Linked DNA regions of Homo sapiens: region 1 is linked to region 2. Evidence: promoter capture Hi-C in 16 types of primary human blood cells and fetal thymus (Javierre and others, 2016). All regions are on one chromosome and are shown on one strand. Each heading gives the region's core, a stretch centred on a gene start or on the middle of the fragment in contact. The rest is flanking DNA. Distances are from core to core; before and after follow the strand shown. Region 1 overlaps AGTPBP1 (ATP/GTP binding carboxypeptidase 1). Region 2 holds the start of C9orf153 (chromosome 9 open reading frame 153).

Region 1 (4,461 bases), core at 947-3,446, 600 kb before region 2:
TAAAAGCCAGGACTACTTTCTCTTTTTCACTTTGGTAGATGTTGTCAAAGAAATTCTTCTTCCCCATATAAATAAACTCTTACTTCCTCTACTGTATACCTACAGTATTATATGGAAAATGACAAACAGCCTACCTCAGATAATTTCATATTTTCATCCAAGTAAGTCATGTGAAAGTTTTTGTTAAGCATAAAACCATAGTAATTTTGGTGATTAGGTTGTTTTTTTTTAACTTAAGAAAAAAAATCACTGAAAAGCTACAAATGTAAACCCGAACATAATTTACCTAGACATTTAATGTTTATATTTTTACACTTTAAAAACATACATAAGTTGGGCCGGGTGTGGTGGCTCACACCTGTAATCCCAGCACTTTGGGAGGCCGAGGCAGGCAGATCACTTGAGGTCAGGAGTTTGAGAACAGACTGGCCAACATGGCGAAAACCCATCTCTACTAAAAATACAAAAATTACCCGGGAATGGTGGCACAGGCCTGTGATCCTGGCTACTCAGGAGGCTGAGGCAGGAGAATTGCTTGAACACGGGAGGCAGAGGTTGCAGTGAGCCGAGATTGCACCACTGCACTCCACCCTGGGCAACAGAGCAAGACTCTGTCTCAAAAAAAAAAATTAAAACAAAAAAAAAGTACATAAGCTATCAAATAATATTCCTATGTGAAGCTTAATTATTTCACAATTCACATTTGCATATATACAACACATCCCACACCATTTCACTTAATTATTAGCCTCCAATTTCTTACATTTAAAGAAATGCTTAACTAAAATAAAATGTGAATGTTTATCACGTTAAGTAAGGCCTTCCTTTGCTGAGGAGTTAGACATAAATAAAAAGAAAATCACAGGGTCACATAATTCTAAGAACCCACAAAAAGCAGCAGTGACCCTGTGATCCTACCTTCAGGAGGTAAGCTGTAGAGCTGAGCCACAGGACCAGTCACAGGAATAACAGGCAACTGGAAATGAAAAGAACTTTTAATTGTTGGGAGTGGCAGTCGATTTTTTGGGAAACACTTCCTCATTATCAGACTGGAGGTATTGACAAGAGGATCCAGAGTCCTGACTGCCAGACATTCCTGTTTTTTAAAAAAAGAAAAAGAAAAAGAATGTTTTTGATGAATAACTGAACCAATTTTACTTTAGTTCAAAAAGTGTCATACATTAATAATTTTCTAGAAACAAATATCTCAAAAACCAATATTTTAACACAGAATAATTACAAAATAGCTTTACTATTCAGAATTATCTATCTGTAAGTAAGAACCCCATGTGGCAAATTCAGAAGAACTTTTCCTTAAATATTTTCACTAAGCAGAAATCAGTACCATCTTTGGAGTGACTTGGGGGGACACTTGGCAAGCCTAGGGCATAAAATAAAAAAGATAATTTAAGGGAAAAGGGGGAAAAGGATTAAGCAAGAAAATTTAAAAGGTGTAAGAAATTAAAAAACAAAAAAAAAAACACGCATTTGACCAAACCTTCCTCAGAACTGTATCAGTTATCATGCAATAATACCTCTCATAAGTTGGCTATTCACCTTATAAAAGGATAGCCTGAATATCACAATATAAAGGTTTTTTTGTTTCTTTGTTTTTGGTTTTGAGATGGAATCTCGCTCTGTCACCCAGGCTGGAGTGAAGTAGAGCTATCTCGGCTCACTGCAAGCTCCGCCTCCTGGGTTCATACCATTCTCCTGCCTCAGCCTCCCGAGTAGCTGGGACTACAGGTGCCCGACACCACGCCCGGCTAATTTTTTGTATTTTTAGTAGAGACGAGGTTTCACCATGTTAGCCAGGATGGTCTCGATCTTCTGACCTCGTGATCCGCCCGCCTTGGCCTCCCAAAGTGCTGGGATTACAGGCATGAGCCACTGCGCCTGGCCCACAATATAAAGTTTTAAGAGTCTGACTTGCTGTCCTGGTATCTAATCTGGAGAAGGGTTAAGGGACATGGGATATGAAACCGTCATATAACAACAGTATTATTAGTGACATTTGACATTTAGATGGTACTATGATACACTGTAAAAGTTTCCATATACATTTTCACATCTGACCTGTCAAAACAAATGAGAAATTAAGGCTCAGAAATGTTAAGTGGCATAAACCAAGTGACCTAACTCTTTCTCATATATAAAATATCCATCAATGTCTATACTAGGAATAGTAAAAACAAGTACATATGATTGATCTAGAAAAGAAAAAACTAAGGTAAACATAAAATATGTGTTCAGATATCTCAACTCTTGTCATATAAAAATAGACTGTGTTTGTCATGTGTGAGACCAGGAGGGCACAATCAAGATAACTGGCTGATATTTTCAAAAAGACAGATTTCTTTCTAATAATTATAGCTTTCTTAAAAAAAAAAGAGAGGGGGTTGCATTGCAACATCCTCATTCCCCATGGCTGACAGTCAGCACAGCAACTAGAAAGGATCTCACTAAATACACTGTCAAAAATGTTTATGCTTAAAATGGCTGGCAGATATAGCATTCCCAGTTCCAGGTTTCATTTTTGTACCTTCTCTATTCAAAAAAGCCTCTATCCAGCAGGAAAACGTGCAGAATACTCACAGACAACAGAGCTGCTCTACAGGCTGTAAAGGATCCACAGATACCTCATGAGAGGAGCAAACAACACCGAGTACAGCCAACTACACATCCTAGAAAACATGGCTTTACGGAATCCCCTCTTGCTAAGTGGATGAATTTCTACTTCTTCCTTTTGCCTTAATGAGATCACATGGACACAGGAAGGGGAATATCACACTCTGGGGACTGTTGTGGGGTGGGGGGAGAGGGGAGGGATAGCATTGGGAGATATACCTAATGCTAGATGACGAGTTAGTGGGTGCAGTGCACCAGCATGGCACATGTATACATATGTAACTAACCTGCACAATGTGCACATGTACCCTAAAACTTAAAAGTATAATAATAAAAAAAAAATAATACAAAAAAAAAAAAAGAAAGAAAATTTCACATTGCAGAGCTGTGCACTGACCATTTCCTCCAACTCAGCCTGAGGTCACATGTGAGAAATAATTGTGTCTTTTACTTTTAAGATTTTCGAAAAATGCATTTATCCTGTGTATACGTTTCTGAGTATTTGCACACTAATTCAGTTTTCTTAACAACCAAATCATATTATTAGTACATAATCACAATAATAAGAAGAAAATAACTCACTTGCGAAGTATTATACAGAATTTTCATCCCATTGGCATCAATAAATGCTTTTCTTCCCAACTTGATGTTTGTAACACTTTTTAAACTCTGTAAAATTCCTTTCCGAATGAGCATGTTTCTATGCCGGTTATCATGGCGGTGCCAATCTACATAAATTGTTAAAAGCACTTGGACATATCCTCTGTCTACAGCTCTCCTGGCATTTGTTTCTTTAACAAAAGAAGATTGAGAAAGAATATTTTTTAAATGACGAGAGTGAGTGGTAGAATAATCAAATTTAAAATATTACCTCAATATTGTGATGGATACTTATAATTCTTTTTTCCAAAACAAATGACAAGCACATATTTATATTTTTTCTAACAAAATAAATATGAAGTTCCAGAGAGAAAATTACAACCTCTTCCAAAATCTGCCTGTGTAATGTTTCACGATTTATAAATATCAAAATCTCTTTACTAAAATTAGAGGAACATCTTTTTAAAGGCTTTTGTTTACTAACAAAAGCTTCAGGTATTTTACAATTTATGAATATACTGATTTTTGTTACACCAAATGAAATGTATAAGCTTTCTACTTGCTAGTTGTGAATGTGATTTTTAGAAGATCTGCTATCATTTTTATAATTTCTATTACAAACTTTATGTTCCCACTGAAATAAACCCTATTGAATTGTAGCTTCTATTGCAAACTTTGTGTTTCCACTAAAATTAATTGCTCTAATTACTCCACAATTATATAAATATTCATACTATAACAATGCTCATTAAAAAATACTTCCGTAACTTTTTTAGTAAATGAAATTTAAGGAGCATTACATGATTAGAAAATAGTGCTTTCTGGCTTTCTAGTCATTAGATTTTTATTGCAATAAGAACTACACTAAAGGTTTTTGTAAATACTCAATTTTATTGGAGTAGAATTAACAAATAAATCCATGTTTGACCTAATTTTATTATTTTTAAAAGTATTAGTATTTAAAATTATTAACCATAGGGCACATTTTACTAAGATAGTGGCAAGGGAATCATATCAGAGCAACATATCAAGTCACCCAATGCTGCTCTGGTGGGTTAATTATAAGGGGTGCAAGATAATGTGCAATACCCATCTGAGGTTGTTTAATTACAAGGAAATACTAATCTCTTCTTAATCTCAAATACACCTATAAAATACCCACCAGGTTCACAGTATGGACACTAAGATAATGCAGTAGTAAGCCTCCACTGATTTTAGCTGCCTGAATTATTA
Region 2 (4,521 bases), core at 1-2,500:
TTGAAGTAATTACTTTTAGAGAGCTTGTTTGGAGGTTCTAGCAGGGGAGTGCAGCTACTCATATACCCTTGCCCAAAGAACGGCCCTCCTCTGTTGGGGAAGGTTGTCCGCAGCGTCTGGAAGGACGCATGTGGACGGATGAGGGAGGAAGGAGACATCCACCTAGCCAGCCAGATCAGACAAATTAACCCTGGCCATCAGTGGGGTGACAGATGTTGCAGCCAGATCACCCTCACATCCGGAAATAATTGCTTTTAAAACGCAATATTTGAAAACCTGAATTTTCTTGGGTAAGCAACTATTATATTGCTAATTTAACGAAACTTTTTTTAAAAATATTAATATACTTAAATTTTAGAGCAATTTTAGAATTGGTTAGAAAGTACAATGTTCCCACAACCCCCCTTCTCTGCACCATACACACAGCTTTCCCCTTTTTTTTTTACTACTTATGTTTGTGTGGTACGTTTGTTATACTTGATGAGCCGGTATCAATGCATGGTTACTAACTAAAGCCCATACTTCACAGTTTACATTACGGTCCATTCTTGGTGTTGTGCATTCTATGAGATTTCACAATGTGCAATTACATATATCCACTTTGATAGTATCATACAGAGCAGTGTTTTTTTTTTTTCTTTGAGATAGGCTCTCATTCTGTCACCCCAGCTGGAGTGCAGTGGCGTGAACACAGGTCACTGCAGCCTCAACCTCCCAGGCTCAGGTGATCCTCCCATCAGCCTCCCAAGTGGCAGAGGAAAAACAAAGGACACTGGGTGTGAGGGAGAGGTGCAAAGTCAGGACCAAGCATCCATGGGAACACAGGGGAGGATGAAGGCACTGAGGTTGGGGAGAGAGAGCAGAGCTATCAGTGTTGAAGGCCGGAAAGGATGAGGGAGTCTGCAGGCTCGGCCCGATCAACTGGTTCCAGCTTCTGTGACCTGCCTGGAGGAAGATGAAACAGGCTCCTCATCCTTATTGGTAAAGATAAACCCAAATCCCATCTCACCTCCCAGCTCTGGTCTTCCCACCTTAGCCACTGCCCACCTCACTCCATCTCTCCTTGCCAAGCCTAGACTGGCTTAGTTTTCACTGCTCTGTGGTCTCACAGTGCCCCGTGGCTATGGCTGTAGATGCACTTACCACTTGTTTTACAGTTGTCTCTTCACGTGGTCATATCTGTCTTGAGTCTCTGCACTCCCAGGGCAGAGGCTGGGTCTCATTCATCCAGCAGCCCCAAGGCCCAGCCCCACTCCTAGCATGTGTCATTGCTTAGTGTTAAGTGACTGTCCATTGTGACATGTGGACATTCTCAAGGTCACATAAGCAGCTATATGATGCTAAGCGATGGGGAATTATCTTGCTGCTTGGTGGGGGGTGGGAGACGGTGGAGGATGATGGAAAAGCATTTTTAAAGAGTGAACATTGAGTAGCTGAGTAGCTACTTTTTTTTCTGCCTCAGCTTGTGGCTGGGACCCCGGGCGCACGCCACCACGCCTGGCTAATTTATGTATTTTTCTCTAGAGATGGGGTTTCGCCATGTTGCCCAGGCTGGCGTGAGTATAATTTTTTTTTTTTTTTGAGATGGAGTCTCACTCTGTCGCCCAGGCTGGAGTGCAGTGGCACGATCTCAGCTCACTGCAAGCTCCGCCTCCCGGGTTCACGCCATTCTCCTGCCTCAGCCTCTTGAGTAGCTGGGACTACAGGTGCCGTGAATGTAATTTTTAATCAGTCAAGTTTTTCCTTCTATAGACATGGGCAAAGTGCAAATAAGAAATTGAGAGAGATAATAGAAGGTACAGCTATGCTCTTTGCACCTGGCCAGATATGGGTAGAAGTGGACCAGGGGCTACCTGGCTGTGCAAATTCTCTCCATGAGCCATGCAGCCGTGCTCCAGACTCCATTCCCCACCCATGGGAGGTCCCTGTGGCAATCACTGAAAATTTTCCTGAAACAGCCATTTCCCCAGAATGCAATCTACTGGGCATTTAAATAGTCTGATTGAGTTAATAACTTGTGAACACCGTGGCAACATATCCATAACATGAAGCTTACCGTGTTAAGCCGTTTTAGGTACACAGTTCTGTGGCATTCAGTACATTCACATTGTTGTGCCACCTGCACTGCCTTCCATCTCCAGAGCTTTTTCATCTTTTCCACCTGAATCTGTGTCCATGAAATAAATTTCTCACCCCCTGTCCCCTGTCAATGGACACCTGGGTTGTTCCTACCTTTTGGCTATTGTGAATAATGCTGTTATGAACATGGATATACAAGAAAGTTAATAATTTTAAGCAGAATTTAATAAATACAGAAGATTCTTCCAATGAGAAAATATTTCAAAAGCCTGCCATTCAAAGGTGTTCTGCAGAGCAACAGCACTGGCTTCACTTGGGCCTTTGCTACTAATGCAGAATCTCAGGCTCTGCCCTGGACCTTTGTTACAGAATCTGCTTTTTTTTTTTTTTTGAGACAGTTTTGCTCTGTCACCCAGGCTGGAATGCAGTGGTGCCATCTCATGTCACTGCAACCTCCCCACCTCCCAGGTTCAAGTGATTCTCCTGCCTCAGCCTCCTGAGTAGCTGGGACTAGAGGCGCCCACCACTATGTCTGGCTAATTTTTGTGTATTTTTAGTAGAGATGGGGTTTCACCATGTTGGCCAGGCTGGTCTCGAACTCCTGACCTCAAGTGATCCACTCGCCTCAGCCTCCCAAAGTGCTGGATTACAGGCGTGAGCTACCTACTGCGCCCGGCCAAGAATCTGCTTTTTAACAAGACCCCCAGGTGACTTATTTGCACCTTAAAGTTTGAGGACTGCTTCAAGACATAGAATCCATGGAGAACAAAAAATGAGTACTTTATTTTTTATTCTTTTTTTTTTTGAGACAGGGTCTTGCTCTGTCATCCAGGCTGGAGTGCAGTAGTACGATCTTGGCTCACTGCAACCTCTACCTCCTGGGCTAAAGTGATCCTCTCACCTTGGTCTCCTGAGCAACGGGGACTACAGGCATGTACCACCATGACCAGCTAATTTTTGTATTTTTTGTAGAGACGGCGTTTTACCACGTTGCCCAGGCTGGTCTTGAACTCCTGGGATCAGGTGATCTGCCCACTTTTGCCTCCCAAAGTGCTGGGATTACAGGCTTGAGCCAACACACCTGGCCCAATAAATGGGCACTTCATCATGAAAAGTTTCGGAATCACTAGCTAGTGGAAGTAAAAGCAGTAACCCATCAAGGCCCTCAAAGTAGGCTAGTTTTAAGCTGAGTACCGCTGGTACAGAGCCCTTGCCCCGCTAAAGGTTGGTGTGAAATGAAGCCTTCCCTGAACACTGCACAGCAGCAAGGGAGGATGGGAGTCCACAGTGATGTAACCACCACATGGCTCTGTATTTCAATAGAGGCTGAGGCTAGGGTGCACCTCCCTCTCTCCTCCATCTCTTGTCTGATGAGACCCACCTGGGACCAGGAGATTGAGTTCCTACTGGGGAATGAGCTTTCAAAACAGCTCCTCAATTAAGGCAGGTTTGTCTATAGTTAATCAGCTACTAAGAGAATGAAATTTCTCCGAATGTTTATATTTGAAATTTATGGTTCTTTTCAAAGAAGTTACTGTGGTCTTTTATTTGAAGGAAATACAGCAAATTTCCCCCAGATTTGAATATGGGACAATAACTCCCTAAATGTGTTGAAACTCTTTCCCTAAGCTCTTGCTTTGATTGATAATCCATTAACATATTATCCCTTTTTGCACAAGAAAATGGCTAAAAGGGACAAGAATTACAACGTATGAAACGTCTACCCTTAGCAGGATGCCATTTATGTGTAGTTAGCTCATCACATCCCCCCAAATTCTGAGACTGTTTTACAGAAGGTTACATGGCTACAAAATGACAGGAACCATGATTCAAATCCAGGCATATCTCACCCCAAACCTACACCTTTCCAGGCCAGCCTCCCAGCCTGCACTGAGCTCAGGTGAGCTGTATTTGGGTTTATTCTGGGTCGATGCTGTGTCTGGCCCATGCCACGTCTGCTCTAAGGCTCAAATGAGACACTGATGTTGCTTACAGCTCAGCTTAGCACAGGCTTTTCCATTTCCTGATTTCTCAGGTATCAAAACATGACAAGAAAGGCCATTTTTTTTTTGAGGTATTTCCTGCTGAGTGAAACCTAGGAAATACTGGAAATCTTAGGGACATCTGATCTTGTAGGGATTGTTCCCAACCCTTTCCTGTTTGAGAAAAAAAAAATCATTCTGGTGGGTCCGGTGACAGAGGGCTGGGAGGCGCCCTGCAACAATGAAGCACAGCAGGCCTCTGTCCTCATGGCCTGATTCATTCAATTTAGCATCCTGATGTGGAAGAGTGGGCTTATAACTGATCATGAAAAGCCTGAAGTCTGCTGCTAAGCGACAGATCTGCTGGCCTACACATCACCCAGGGGCACTACCAAATCGCCTAACACAATGACCAGTGTTTGTGAGTAGAATGTGGATGAATGTGGTGCAACAGACAGAA

The links. Contacts are between HindIII fragments. The CHiCAGO score rates a contact against its expected background, and 5 or more counts as called.
Region 1: a contact is called between a fragment that was not itself captured here and the fragment with the promoter of C9orf153 in region 2, in 1 of 17 cell types (total CD8 T cells). The highest score is 6.4, in total CD8 T cells.

What each region holds. Positions count from the first base shown.
Region 1 is chr9:85,654,225-85,658,685 of GRCh38, forward strand. AGTPBP1 (ATP/GTP binding carboxypeptidase 1) reads right to left here. Exons shown (of 26, transcript NM_001330701.2): 10 at 3,211-3,419; 11 at 919-1,096. Among named protein-coding and RNA genes, the nearest start is that of AGTPBP1, 85 kb to the right of the region's middle. The HindIII fragment of the contact is 3,037 bases long and covers 679-3,715 here.
Region 2 is chr9:86,258,407-86,262,927 of GRCh38, forward strand. It overlaps C9orf153 (chromosome 9 open reading frame 153), which reads right to left and starts at 1,251. Exons shown (of 4, transcript NM_001276366.4): 1 at 1,144-1,251. It also overlaps the pseudogene RN7SKP264. The HindIII fragment of the contact is 3,437 bases long and covers 1-2,049 here.